4 separate regions of the Homo sapiens genome follow, and regions 1, 2 and 4 are each linked to region 3. The links are contacts of gene promoters, found by promoter capture Hi-C in human tissues and cell types (Jung and others, 2019). All regions are on one chromosome and are shown on one strand. The core of a region is centred on a gene start or on the middle of the fragment in contact, and the rest is flanking DNA. Distances in the headings are between cores, read along the strand shown. Region 1 has its middle 81 kb from the start of EGFR. Region 2 has its middle 120 kb from the start of EGFR. Region 3 holds the start of EGFR (epidermal growth factor receptor). Region 4 overlaps EGFR (epidermal growth factor receptor).

Evidence for each region. The method cuts DNA at HindIII sites, captures the fragments that hold promoters and counts their contacts. A contact is called where the count stands out against the background at its distance.
Region 1: a contact is called between a fragment that was not itself captured here and the fragment with the promoter of EGFR in region 3, in 5 of the 25 tissues and cell types used here (adrenal gland, bladder, mesendoderm cells and 2 more).
Region 2: a contact is called between a fragment that was not itself captured here and the fragment with the promoter of EGFR in region 3, in 3 of the 25 tissues and cell types used here (adrenal gland, dorsolateral prefrontal cortex and spleen).
Region 4: a fragment that was not itself captured here is called in contact with the fragment with the promoter of EGFR in region 3 in 2 of the 25 tissues and cell types used here (bladder and mesenchymal stem cells).

Annotation. Positions count from the first base shown.
Region 1 is chr7:54,936,546-54,939,558 of GRCh38, forward strand. It overlaps the pseudogene LOC643168. Among named protein-coding and RNA genes, the nearest start is that of EGFR, 81 kb to the right of the region's middle. The HindIII fragment of the contact is 7,135 bases long and covers 1-3,013 here.
Region 2 is chr7:54,900,854-54,904,175 of GRCh38, forward strand. No RefSeq gene overlaps it. Among named protein-coding and RNA genes, the nearest start is that of EGFR, 120 kb to the right of the region's middle. The HindIII fragment of the contact is 4,185 bases long and covers 1-3,322 here.
Region 3 is chr7:55,017,445-55,020,678 of GRCh38, forward strand. It overlaps EGFR (epidermal growth factor receptor), which reads left to right and starts at 1,573. Exons shown (of 28, transcript NM_005228.5): 1 at 1,573-1,921. The coding sequence starts at 1,834. LOC105375284 (a long non-coding RNA gene) reads right to left here and starts at 1,478. Exons shown (of 4, transcript XR_007060329.1): 1 at 1-1,478. RefSeq lists an enhancer at 2,573-3,234. The HindIII fragment of the contact is 5,592 bases long and covers 37-3,234 here.
Region 4 is chr7:55,083,552-55,086,756 of GRCh38, forward strand. The region is part of intron 1 of EGFR (epidermal growth factor receptor); the gene reads left to right. Among named protein-coding and RNA genes, the nearest start is that of EGFR, 66 kb to the left of the region's middle. The HindIII fragment of the contact is 3,887 bases long and covers 1-3,205 here.

The sequences.
Region 1 (3,013 bases), core at 343-2,842, 81 kb before region 3:
CATCAAAGTGAAGATGTTTTTCTACCATCTCCCAGAGACTTTTTTCCCTATAACAACTACCCTGATTCAGATGATGACACAGAAGCACTACCTCCTTATAGTCCAACTGGGGATGATGTACAGTTGCTTCCAACACCTAGTGACCATTCCAGATACAGATTAGATTTGCAAGGAAATGAATATTCTATTCATAGTACCCCAAACTGTCGTGACCATGAACGCAACCATAAAGTGCCTCCACCTATTAAACCTAAACTAGTTGTACCTAAGACAAATGTGAAAAAAATGGATCCAAACATTTTAAAAACAATTGAAGCTGGTATTGGTAAAAATCCAAGAAAGCGGACTTCCCAGGTGCCTTTGGCACATCCTGAAGATATGAATCCTTCAGATAACTATGCGGAACCCATTGATACAATTTTCAAACAGAAGGGCTATTCTGATGAGATTTATATTGTCCCAGATGATAGTCAAAATCACATTAAAATTCAAAACTCACTTGTAAATAACACCCAAGGAGATGAAGAAAATGGATTTTCTGATAGAACCTCAAAAAAATCACGGGGAATGGAGGCCTTCAAAATACAAATATAAGTCTAAAATCATGTTTAGTAAAGCCAAGTCATACTATAGGAGAACACATTCAGATGCAAGTGATGATGAGGCTTTCACCACTTCTAAAACAAAAAGAAAAGGAAGACATCGTGGAAGTGAAGAAGATCCACTTCTTTCTCCTGTTGAAACTTGGAAAGGTTAGGTATTGGTAATCCTGCAATCACTTCTGACCAGGAGTTAGATGATAAGAAGATGGAGAAGAAAACCCGCAAAGTGAAAGGAGATAAAAAGCAGAAAAAGAAAACTAAGACCTTCAATCCACCAACATGTAGAAATTGGGAAAGTAATTACTTTGGGATGCCCCTCCAGGATCTGGTTACAGCTGAGAAGCCCATACCAGTATTTGTTGAGAAATGTGTGGAATTTATTGAAGATACAGGGTTATGTACTGAAGGACTCTACCGTGTTAGCAGGAACGAAACTGACCAAGACAATATTCAAAAGCAGTTTGATCAAGATCATAATATCAATCTAGTGTCAATGGAAGTAACAGTAAATGCTGTAGCTGGAGCCCTTAAAGCTTTCTTTGCAGATCTGCCAGTTCCTTTAATACCATATTCTCTTCATCCAGAGCTATTGGAAACAGCAAAAATCCCAGATAAAACAGAATGTCTTCATGCCTTGAAAGAAATTGCTAAGAAATTTCATCCTGTAAACTATGATGTATTCAGATACATGATAACACATCTGAACAGGGTTAGTCAGCAAAATAAAATCAACCTAATGACAGCAGACAACTTAATCCATCTGTTTTTGGCCAACCTTGATGAGAGCTGATTTTGAAAATCAAGAGTTTCTGTCTACTACTAAGATTCATCAATCTGTTGTTGAAACATTCATTCAACAGTGTCAGTTTTTCTTTTACAATGGAGAAATTGTAGAAACGACAAACACTGTGGCTCCTCCACCACCTTCAAACCCAGGACAGTTGGTGGAACCAACGGTACTACTTCAGTTGCCGCCACCATTGCAACCTCAGCTGATACAACCACAATTACAAACGGAACCTCTTGGTATTATATGAGTAGGAAGTAATTGCAAACAGGCTGGATTTGGACAAAAAGCAAATCTAGACATGCATGTTTCAGGGTTCAGTAGTATACTTCATATTTCATACAGATAATTCACATTCAAAATGACATTTTCTCTTTGAACTAGATGGTATTCCTTATTCACTTACATTACAAATCTAAGACTATGTGATAGGCATGACTGGAGAGGTTTAATTTTTATAAACAAAAATAGCTATAAAATACAAAGCTGCTGCTGCATGCAACCTTATTGCAATCAGTATATCATTCCTGTGACAATTTCTGTCACATTATGTTGTGAATAAAATTTTTCCATAGAAATTAAATGATTTAAAAACTCACCTATATGAAACATTTAATGCTTTTCAGCCTGCTTTCTGGCGATTTTGTTATTTGATGTGCTAATTTGGGCAACTTAATTTACATTCTGGCAGTCAGTGTAGATAAGTAAAAGCCCAGTTAAGTATTTTATACTTTCAGGCTACTGAGGCCATGCTTGGGATGTTGTTTGAAAGAAAGAAAAAATACACTTGACATATTTCACATTTCTGTACCTTCATCTTTACTTACAAATAAACCTGTGGATGATTTGATGAAGGATAAATGAACCTATTTCTTTTACACACATACCAAGGACATGCTTGTGACTAAAGTGAGTTGATAATATTGTGCAAAGGATAGTTGTCACCAACTCATTTCTTTCTGGTCCATAATGAAATAAACATTTTGTAGACTGTTAATTCTGTAAATAGATGCATGGTCAAAAGATCTATGATGTTCTTATAATCTTAATCTAATATATTTTAGATATTTTAATTTTTTCCCTTTTGGAGAACACATTTAGTATAGTGTAGAAAATACTTCATGACATTTGCATTAAGTTTATATAACTTTTCATACATAAACATGAAATTTGTTGTAGAAAATTCTTTAAACCAAACATTTAAATCTAAGACTTCAATTTAATTTGTTCCTTGTGTCTATTTTTATGTGGCCCTTAAAAACATATCCAAAAAACCAATAAAAATACTTTGGGTACTGACAAACTCTTCGGAGTGTTTATGTTACAAATTTGTATTCATGTTCTTTCCTGTGATGTGTTATCCTAAAACCCAAAATGGCTTTTGCACCATTTTTAAGCCAATTTTTTTCCTTTGATGTTGGCACCAGAATTACTATAAACGACTGCTGCTTTTGGGTGTAAACATTTTGTTAGTGAAGATATAACCAGAACAATAAATTATGGATAAAATTTTCAGAATAGGTGGCACAGGCAAATTTCACTAGGTTATATTTTGTGTAGTAAAGAAAAAAATTCTTTGGTAAATGTTATCTTAATTCAGACTACAATTTTAAGATTGTCTTAT
Region 2 (3,322 bases), core at 452-2,951, 120 kb before region 3:
GAGATGGCCATCTTTTGCTAGGCTTGCTGGGCTCCTGTGTCCTCACCCCACATCCTGTAGTGACTTTGGCAGCATGTCCTAACGTCCTGTATGAAGCTTTCTTCAATCAATTACAAATATTCAGCAGTTAGAGCTATTTTTCAAATTTAGCTGGGCATCCTGTCCTTTAATTGGCTAAATATGGCAATTTAACCTTTTGAATATATGAAAAGGACTGAAACTTTCATTACTGGAAAGCTCTTCTAGGTAGAAACAAAAATCCCAATGAAAGTTAACACAATTTTTATCTATTTAGGCACTTTTACACAACTGATGGAAAAAGAAGCTGCCTCTCTCTTTCATGTATGAAAAAATGTGATTCTTTGGCCAGATAGGAAGAAAAAAGAGAACTTTTACTGCATGCCTGTATATGGCACTACTTCAATAGAAGTTTCTTCCACAACCTATAAGAGCAGGAAGGATAGCCTCTAGAAGCCTTGTTTGTAATATATTACGATTCATTTACTGACCCTTGACTCAAACAGCACCCACTGAACTTGAGGCATGCCGGGCTCTACCCCTAGGTGCCAAGAATGTGAAATGATTATGGCATCTGGGAGAATATGGTGCTTATTTATTTTTATACTTGATAATTTATTTATTTACACATACATGATTTTCAGACTTGTCCTAAAATCCATTTAAAGCAGCTACCTGATAAAATATCTTTAAAAATAAGTCAGGGAAATATAGCTTTAAACTAAGCCTAAATGGACTGAGTTTCTAAGAAAAAAAAAACAAGAATAAACATGTTAGGAGAAACTCTAAGGGACTATATATGTATGTGTATATGTGTATATATGAATATATATGCATGTGTGTATAAAATACATATATTTATGTATACACAAAATACATATATTTATGTATACACAAAATACATATATTTATGTATACACACATAGCTATTATAGTCTAATATAATTTAAATCTTATGTATGCTTAAAAATCCCTTTACAAAATCAAAAGGCAAATAAACAGGGGTAAATATATACAATGCACACAAAATACAAGTGGCTGATAATCTTTGTGGTGAAAGGACTCTCCTGACTGGGAAGGGGAAGGTGAACATTCCATTCAAAAGGTGCTGCAGGACAGGAAGAGACGGCTGGGGAAGAGCATGGAAGGAGCCACCCGCATAATCTTTGGTGCAAACTCAAACCCTGGTGGTGACTTTAGCATTACACAACTTTCTTCCCCAATTTCTCTTTGCCTGACAGCCTTGTCTCACACAATCATCTAATATTGATGACTAGTTGGTGATTGTGTTCTGGTGCAACTAATATGGTGAGGAGCCTCCATTCACGTCCACGGCCATCTCTTTCGGACTTAGCTTCAGTTGCTGGTCGGAGCTATCATCACATATTCTCTCTGGGTTGTTTTGAGGCTCACATCTCCACACACGTGAACACACCTTTGCACACACAGGAAGTTTACTAACATAGTGCCCGGCATTCATTCAAAGCTCAACACCAGAATCTTCCCTCTTTCAAGCTTTGTCTTAGACAAGAGTAGTTTGACGGCAAAAGGAGAAACCTACACAAACTAGTCTAAGGATGAATAATCATAAAGAAGTAGGGATATTTAAAAGAATCGAAGAGCAGAAAACACAGCCAGTCTCACAAGCAACTGGACCTGAGAAAAGAACAAGAAAAACTCTGAGGAGCAGCAAATCCACAGGTTTTCTAACAAGGAGCTGTGGAGGCAGGACCACCCAGGAACCTCACTCTGGGATGCAGCCAGTGCCATGGAAAGGCCTGGGTCAGCATGAGGACAGGTACCATGGAAGCTGGAAACTTGATGAAGTCGGCAGAACAAGCTTGGACACTGGAATCAGGCCAACCGGAATGAGACACCATCTCCTCACAAGCGCTACTGTGCTGGCCCCGAAACTCACTTCACCGCTTTGGGTCTCAGCTTCCTCATCTACAAAGTGGGGATAATAGGGCTTTCCCCATAGGATTGTTGCAAGTGCTAGACAAGGGTTCATAAGAGATTCTCAATTAGTTTTTGCCTATCTGCTACATCTACATTGCATATGCAATCATAAATTTTATCAGGTCAAAAGGCAGACTGATCAAAATGGAGTATTCAATGAAACAAGCATAAATGCCATGTTCTAACACAGCTGGTCCCAAAGGACAATTTTATTCCTGCAGGAAGCTTGTTAAGAAGACCTCCGGCCAGTCAGAGAAGTCTAAATCCCCACCCAGAGCTTTGCACGCTCTATATACATATTAATGTATTTCTATGTCTAGTGGTAAAGTAACCTAATTTTGCTTAATGTAGCAACTTTCAATTCTCCAAATTACTTTAATTATTAAACAAGGGAGGAAGGTTGTTTTGCTGATTATTAAAATCCTCCAGAAATAATTTTCTGTAGAACATACTTTCAGAAATGTCACACTCTAATGATTCAAGCTTAGTCCCGAATAGAAAACATAATTTTGGTTTTTTCATTTGTAAGACATATATAATATTGTCATGATGAATTTAGTAAGTCTTATTTAATATTCATTCATATATTCAATTATATTTGGGGAGTTCACTAGTGACTGGAAAGTGGGGATATGAGAGCCATTTTCTGATTTCACAGAAATTATAGACGAGCAGAGAAGGCAGACAATATAAAATGTAAGTATATGCAAAGAAGATGTACAGTATCTCATGAGAGGGTGTTCAAAGTATAGAAGGTAAGTGTCATATCGAGATAACTAAAAAATTATACATATCATTTATTGAAAATAACACATTTTCTATAGAGTTTTAAAAATGCATGTGTTACTTATATAGGAACACAAAAAAAACACTTTATTTCTCTAAAACTGATGTACCAAAGGCCCCACAGTCACACTTTAAAGAAAAAGACCTCTTTGGCTTTGCGAATTTGGGAAATTTTATTTTGCCCTTTTGAAGCTAACAAACTTTCCTCAGACTACTTCTAAATCATCATAACATTTCTCACCATGACAAACAGAGGCATTAGCAAGAAGAGAACAGGAGAGGTTCTGATAAATCTCTTTCAGAGGGATCATTCAAATATTGTTATTTTTCTTGGAATGTTTGAATTTTCATGATCTCTCAGCCCTCCAATTAGGATGGGTCTCCTCAATGTAGAAAGTGATAATAATGAAGAAGTTAGGTAAGGTGTTCTTTTGAATGGGAAGATATGAAAACTGCAAAACATCAAGGGCAAATTCATTCATCAGCCTCCTTAGCAAATCGGTTCATTCCAAAACTTGACTCAGCTGCTTTGTCACTAAACATACCCTCTTGACCTAGC
Region 3 (3,234 bases), core at 323-2,822:
ACAGAAAATATAGTTTAAAACCAAATTTGCAGCCCTTGTTAAGTGAATGCACAGGACTTTATTGTATTCAGGTCTTTTATTGTAAGACTCACTCCTGTCTTCATTTTATGTTCCACTGTTGTGCTTCCCATTTGCCTTTCTCTAGTTTTGTTTTCTGTGTTTCTACGGACTGCTCTCAGCCCAGGTGTGCAGGAAGCACACACATGCCTGCAGAGCCTTCATGGCCTCTGCATTCAGGGCATGACTTCAACGCACAGTGGCTGTACTGATTTGTTAAAACAAAGGAACAGATTACTTCTCCTAATTCACAGGGAAGTTCCAGGTTGTGCGGGCAGTGAGCAGACCTGTGTCTGTCTGCGCTTGCCCTGGTGAAAAACCCCACCGTTCAGGCTGCAGGGTGCGAGACCCAGGCACAAACATTTTGCTGGATGAGGAGGAAAGATGTAAGGTTGCTCCCCTTCAGAGACAGCAAAGGGCAGGTCTGTAGCTTCACTTACTTCAGGATTGTGATTTTTGACAGAGCCGAGAGATCAGGGTTGTTGAACCAGGCCTGAAGGTCCTAGTGAATCTCGTGAAGAGAGGAGGGGTCTGGCTGTAACATGGACCTAGAGGACATTTTTACTGCAGGAGAAGGAACAGTGGGGATGGGGTGGACTTGCCAAAGGAATATAGCTCAAGTTCCTGCAGCCCAAAAAAGCTCAGTTTCTTTTGGCCAAAGCTTCCGCGAGTTTCCCTGGCATTTCTCCTGCGGGAGCTACAGGGGCAGTGGGACACTTAGCCTCTCTAAAAGCACCTCCACGGCTGTTTGTGTCAAGCCTTTATTCCAAGAGCTTCACTTTTGCGAAGTAATGTGCTTCACACATTGGCTTCAAAGTACCCATGGCTGGTTGCAATAAACATTAAGGAGGCCTGTCTCTGCACCCGGAGTTGGGTGCCCTCATTTCAGATGATTTCGAGGGTGCTTGACAAGATCTGAAGGACCCTCGGACTTTAGAGCACCACCTCGGACGCCTGGCACCCCTGCCGCGCGGGCACGGCGACCTCCTCAGCTGCCAGGCCAGCCTCTGATCCCCGAGAGGGTCCCGTAGTGCTGCAGGGGAGGTGGGGACCCGAATAAAGGAGCAGTTTCCCCGTCGGTGCCATTATCCGACGCTGGCTCTAAGGCTCGGCCAGTCTGTCTAAAGCTGGTACAAGTTTGCTTTGTAAAACAAAAGAAGGGAAAGGGGGAAGGGGACCCTGGCACAGATTTGGCTCGACCTGGACATAGGCTGGGCCTGCAAGTCCGCGGGGACCGGGTCCAGAGGGGCAGTGCTGGGAACGCCCCTCTCGGAAATTAACTCCTCAGGGCACCCGCTCCCCTCCCATGCGCCGCCCCACTCCCGCCGGAGACTAGGTCCCGCGGGGGCCACCGCTGTCCACCGCCTCCGGCGGCCGCTGGCCTTGGGTCCCCGCTGCTGGTTCTCCTCCCTCCTCCTCGCATTCTCCTCCTCCTCTGCTCCTCCCGATCCCTCCTCCGCCGCCTGGTCCCTCCTCCTCCCGCCCTGCCTCCCCGCGCCTCGGCCCGCGCGAGCTAGACGTCCGGGCAGCCCCCGGCGCAGCGCGGCCGCAGCAGCCTCCGCCCCCCGCACGGTGTGAGCGCCCGACGCGGCCGAGGCGGCCGGAGTCCCGAGCTAGCCCCGGCGGCCGCCGCCGCCCAGACCGGACGACAGGCCACCTCGTCGGCGTCCGCCCGAGTCCCCGCCTCGCCGCCAACGCCACAACCACCGCGCACGGCCCCCTGACTCCGTCCAGTATTGATCGGGAGAGCCGGAGCGAGCTCTTCGGGGAGCAGCGATGCGACCCTCCGGGACGGCCGGGGCAGCGCTCCTGGCGCTGCTGGCTGCGCTCTGCCCGGCGAGTCGGGCTCTGGAGGAAAAGAAAGGTAAGGGCGTGTCTCGCCGGCTCCCGCGCCGCCCCCGGATCGCGCCCCGGACCCCGCAGCCCGCCCAACCGCGCACCGGCGCACCGGCTCGGCGCCCGCGCCCCCGCCCGTCCTTTCCTGTTTCCTTGAGATCAGCTGCGCCGCCGACCGGGACCGCGGGAGGAACGGGACGTTTCGTTCTTCGGCCGGGAGAGTCTGGGGCGGGCGGAGGAGGAGACGCGTGGGACACCGGGCTGCAGGCCAGGCGGGGAACGGCCGCCGGGACCTCCGGCGCCCCGAACCGCTCCCAACTTTCTTCCCTCACTTTCCCCGCCCAGCTGCGCAGGATCGGCGTCAGTGGGCGAAAGCCGGGTGCTGGTGGGCGCCTGGGGCCGGGGTCCCGCACGTGCGCCCCGCGCTGTCTTCCCAGGGCGCGACGGGGTCCTGGCGCGCACCCGAGGGGCGGGCGCTGCCCACCCGCCGAGACTGCACTGTTTAGGGAAGCTGAGGAAGGAACCCAAAAATACAGCCTCCCCTCGGACCCCGCGGGACAGGCGGCTTTCTGAGAGGACCTCCCCGCCTCCGCCCTCCGCGCAGGTCTCAAACTGAAGCCGGCGCCCGCCAGCCTGGCCCCGGCCCCTCTCCAGGTCCCCGCGATCCTCGTTCCCCAGTGTGGAGTCGCAGCCTCGACCTGGGAGCTGGGAGAACTCGTCTACCACCACCTGCGGCTCCCGGGGAGGGGTGGTGCTGGCGGCGGTTAGTTTCCTCGTTGGCAAAAGGCAGGTGGGGTCCGACCCGCCCCTTGGGCGCAGACCCCGGCCGCTCGCCTCGCCCGGTGCGCCCTCGTCTTGCCTATCCAAGAGTGCCCCCCACCTCCCGGGGACCCCAGCTCCCTCCTGGGCGCCCGCGCCGAAAGCCCCAGGCTCTCCTTCGATGGCCGCCTCGCGGAGACGTCCGGGTCTGCTCCACCTGCAGCCCTTCGGTCGCGCCTGGGCTTCGCGGTGGAGCGGGACGCGGCTGTCCGGCCACTGCAGGGGGGGATCGCGGGACTCTTGAGCGGAAGCCCCGGAAGCAGAGCTCATCCTGGCCAACACCATGGTGTTTCAAAATGGGGCTCACAGCAAACTTCTCCTCAAAACCCGGAGACTTTCTTTCTTGGATGTCTCTTTTTGCTGTTTGAAGAATTTGAGCCAACCAAAATATTAAACCTGTCTTACACACACACACACACACACACACACACACACACCGGATTGCTGTCCCTGGTTCAAGTGTGCCAAGTGTGCAGACAGAACATGAGCGAGTCTGGCTTCGTGACTACCGACCATAAACCC
Region 4 (3,205 bases), core at 313-2,812, 66 kb after region 3:
CAGTATAACCAAAACAGGCACATGGCGAGGCACACTGTGCGCATGTGTGTACAATTAATATCATGGTTTTAAATTATTTTCAGGCCAAGGGGAGATCTTTGCTGCATCTACTGAAGAAAGCGAATCTTTTTCTTCCTGAAAAAAAATGGCTACTTATTAGTCGAATTTGTGTTTTAAAAATATGTGAACTAATATAATGCAGACATGCATTAATGTTTAAATATACTGGAAGTTTTTGGTAAAATGAAACCCATTGTCTCTGTTGATTACTTTGATGAGTCAAGAAGTAACATCCTGGGAATGATTGGCCAGTTTAAATGAGTGCCTCAGGTTTTTGGAATACAAGAAATCAAGAGGAAGGGATTAGAACATATAGGTTAGCAAGATTGGGATCCTAAAATACAGACCCAAATGAATGGAACAAAATCAGGGAATTTATTAATAACAGGGTCAAGGCCAAATCAGTAACAAATATCCTGAGTGGAAGAAAGGTGGTTTAACAAATGCCCCTATGAAAGATAGAGATTGGCTTACCATGATGAGATGTAAGCCCAAGTTATGAGGTTGGCACACAAAACCACAAATGTCATAGCTTAAAACAACACACACTTCTTATCTCTGTTTCTGTGGGTCAGGGTCTGGGTTCTCAGGGACTCACAAAGTATGTTTTCATCTGGAGCTCCAGGTCCTCTTCCAGGCTCATAAGGGTTCTTGGCAGAATTCAGTTTCTTGAGGCTGTAGGACTGAGGTCCTGGCTCCTAGAGGCCACCCTCTCCATAAGCAGTTCTTAGCATGGCCGCCTGCTTCTCCAGGCCCAGTGGGAAAGCATGTGCCTCCAGGAGGGCTCAGTCCATTCTTCATGGCTTTTACCTGGTTAAGTCAGGCCCACTCAGGATAACTTCATTTTGTATTAAATCAAAACCAGCTGATTTGGGATGTTAATTACATCTGCACAACTTCAACTTTGCCATATAACCTAACCATGGGACTGATATTTATCATGCATTTGGGTCAAGTTGCATTAAGAGATATAATAAAGCTGGACAAGCTTCTGTTGATTAGAAGAGTTCAGTTACAAGGCTACACTTGGGAGGAATGTTTACAAACTGGAATGGTCAGAGGATGGGGAAGACACTTGAGAAAAGTCAAGTGACGGATGAAGGCAAATGTGGATATTTATCTGGGAGAAAACTAAGAGGAGTTATAATAGCTGTCTTCAAATATTTAAAGGGCTTTTATTAGGAAGAGGAATTTGGCATATTGGATTTTGCCTTCAGAGAAGTGGAGTCCTGAGATGCTCTTAGCCATTCATTCCAGCCTCCAGGGCTCACCTGCTGTCTTCTGTCCAGGTTCTCGGTAGCAGGGCAGTACAGCCCCATCCGTGATCTTCCATAGTCAGGCATATTGTCACACTCAGTGAGCGGAGAGTCAACCGGGAGGAAGGCACAGTTTCTCTGGAATGACCTACGGAATGGTACGCTCAAATGCAAATTCTCCTTCCCTTCCCCAGTCCTTGTCCTTCAGATGGTAATTTAGGAGCTGAAGGTCAGGGCACCAGCAGCCTTTGGAAGCCTACAGGACAACAGTCAGCCTGGCTAGAAAAAAAAACAATGTCACAGGCATGTTGTGTTTAATCACATGAAGGATATTTGCATTGTTTTCCAACTGATGCCAGCAGACACATTGTCAGTGGTATCATGCCTGGGGTATCAGAGTTGACATTGGGTTGCCCCTTCTCTGAGGCATTCATGTAAATCCTTTTAAGTTTATAAAACCTCCATGTGGCTCCTGCATGCTTCATCATTTGCATGTGTCTCTTTTTCCAGGGGAGGCAGCATGGGGAGCAGGATGCTGGTGGGCTCCAGGTGCAGAGAGCAGGGTGGGCGTCAGACCCCAGGTCCACTGTGCACGCCCTCTTGTAGAGCCCGTTCCGTTGTCCATGAGATGAGGAGTGTTCTTATCTCTAAAGTATTATCATGAAAACCTAACAATGTAGAAAGACTAAAGCACATGGGTGGTGCTTCATAAATAGTATTTCTCCCACTTTCTGAAAACTCCTGCTGAAGTAACTGCACAAGAATCCTTGAACATTTAGAATTCTGGTTTTAGCCATACCATAAAGTCAGTAGTGCGTGGTGGAATTCTGCTAACGAAAATTGCGAAGGATCAAGGCAGAGTACAGAGCTGGTGTGTAGCGGGTACCTTCTGTCTGCTGGCACTAGGTATTTTACACATTAAATCAGCTCGTTCTCACATCAGCTCTTTTAAAAATAAGGAAATGAGGAGCCACAGTGGCCCAACTGATGCAGTGGCAGAAGTAGAATTTGAGCTTGTGCAGATGTGCCTCCGTGTTTTGTCTCCTGAGCATGCTGCCCCAAGTTTGACAATACCAAGATTTGTACTGGAACATTCCCTCCCATCCCCACCCCCTAGAAGCCCCTCTTCCTCCCTTAGATTTGACACATAGTTTGAAACCACTATTAACTACCTTATGAGAGCCACTGTTTGTGAAGTGCTGACTATGTGCCAGGTCCCGTGCCGTGCAATTTTTGTGAATTATCTCGTGTCTACAGTGCCTCACAATTTCTCTGCTCAATACCTCCATGTTACTGCCGAGGAAAGGGAAGCTCAGAGAGAGTAAGTAATTTGCTCGAGTTAAAGAGCTGGCCAGGACAGCCAGGGGCTTGCACCCCGGAGCCTTCATCCACTACACTGTCAGCTGGTATCTCAACCAGCCATTACAGGCTGTAAAAAAATTATATAAGATAGTCTATGGTAATGCAGAAAAGTGAGGTTATTTTGCTCCCTTTCCCTTTGAAGAAAAAAGCCCTGGAAAGACATATCACTTGAGTATGGGAAAAAATGAAGCTGTGGCTTTTCTGTGAGTCAATTCTTTCCTGGCAGCTTCTTGGAATAAGACCAAGTATAGCAGCAGAGTTTTCTGTTTTAATTTGAGCTGCAGGGTGACTTTTTTTCTTCTATGCTTTCATCTCTCTGTGGCTTCTTTTGCCTCGTTAATTTCATGCCCTGCCCAGGCGGGCTACTGTGCTGCCCAGTCACCCGGGTCTGGGGCGGCCACCGCTGGCCAGCAGGCAGGCCCTCCAGAGGCAGAGGTGGCCACGCTTAGGTCGCTCCCGCTGTGGAGGCGGCACACTTGGGTGGCAGCACAGCTGTGATGTGGCGGCAGCTGGCAGCCCCATGGGAA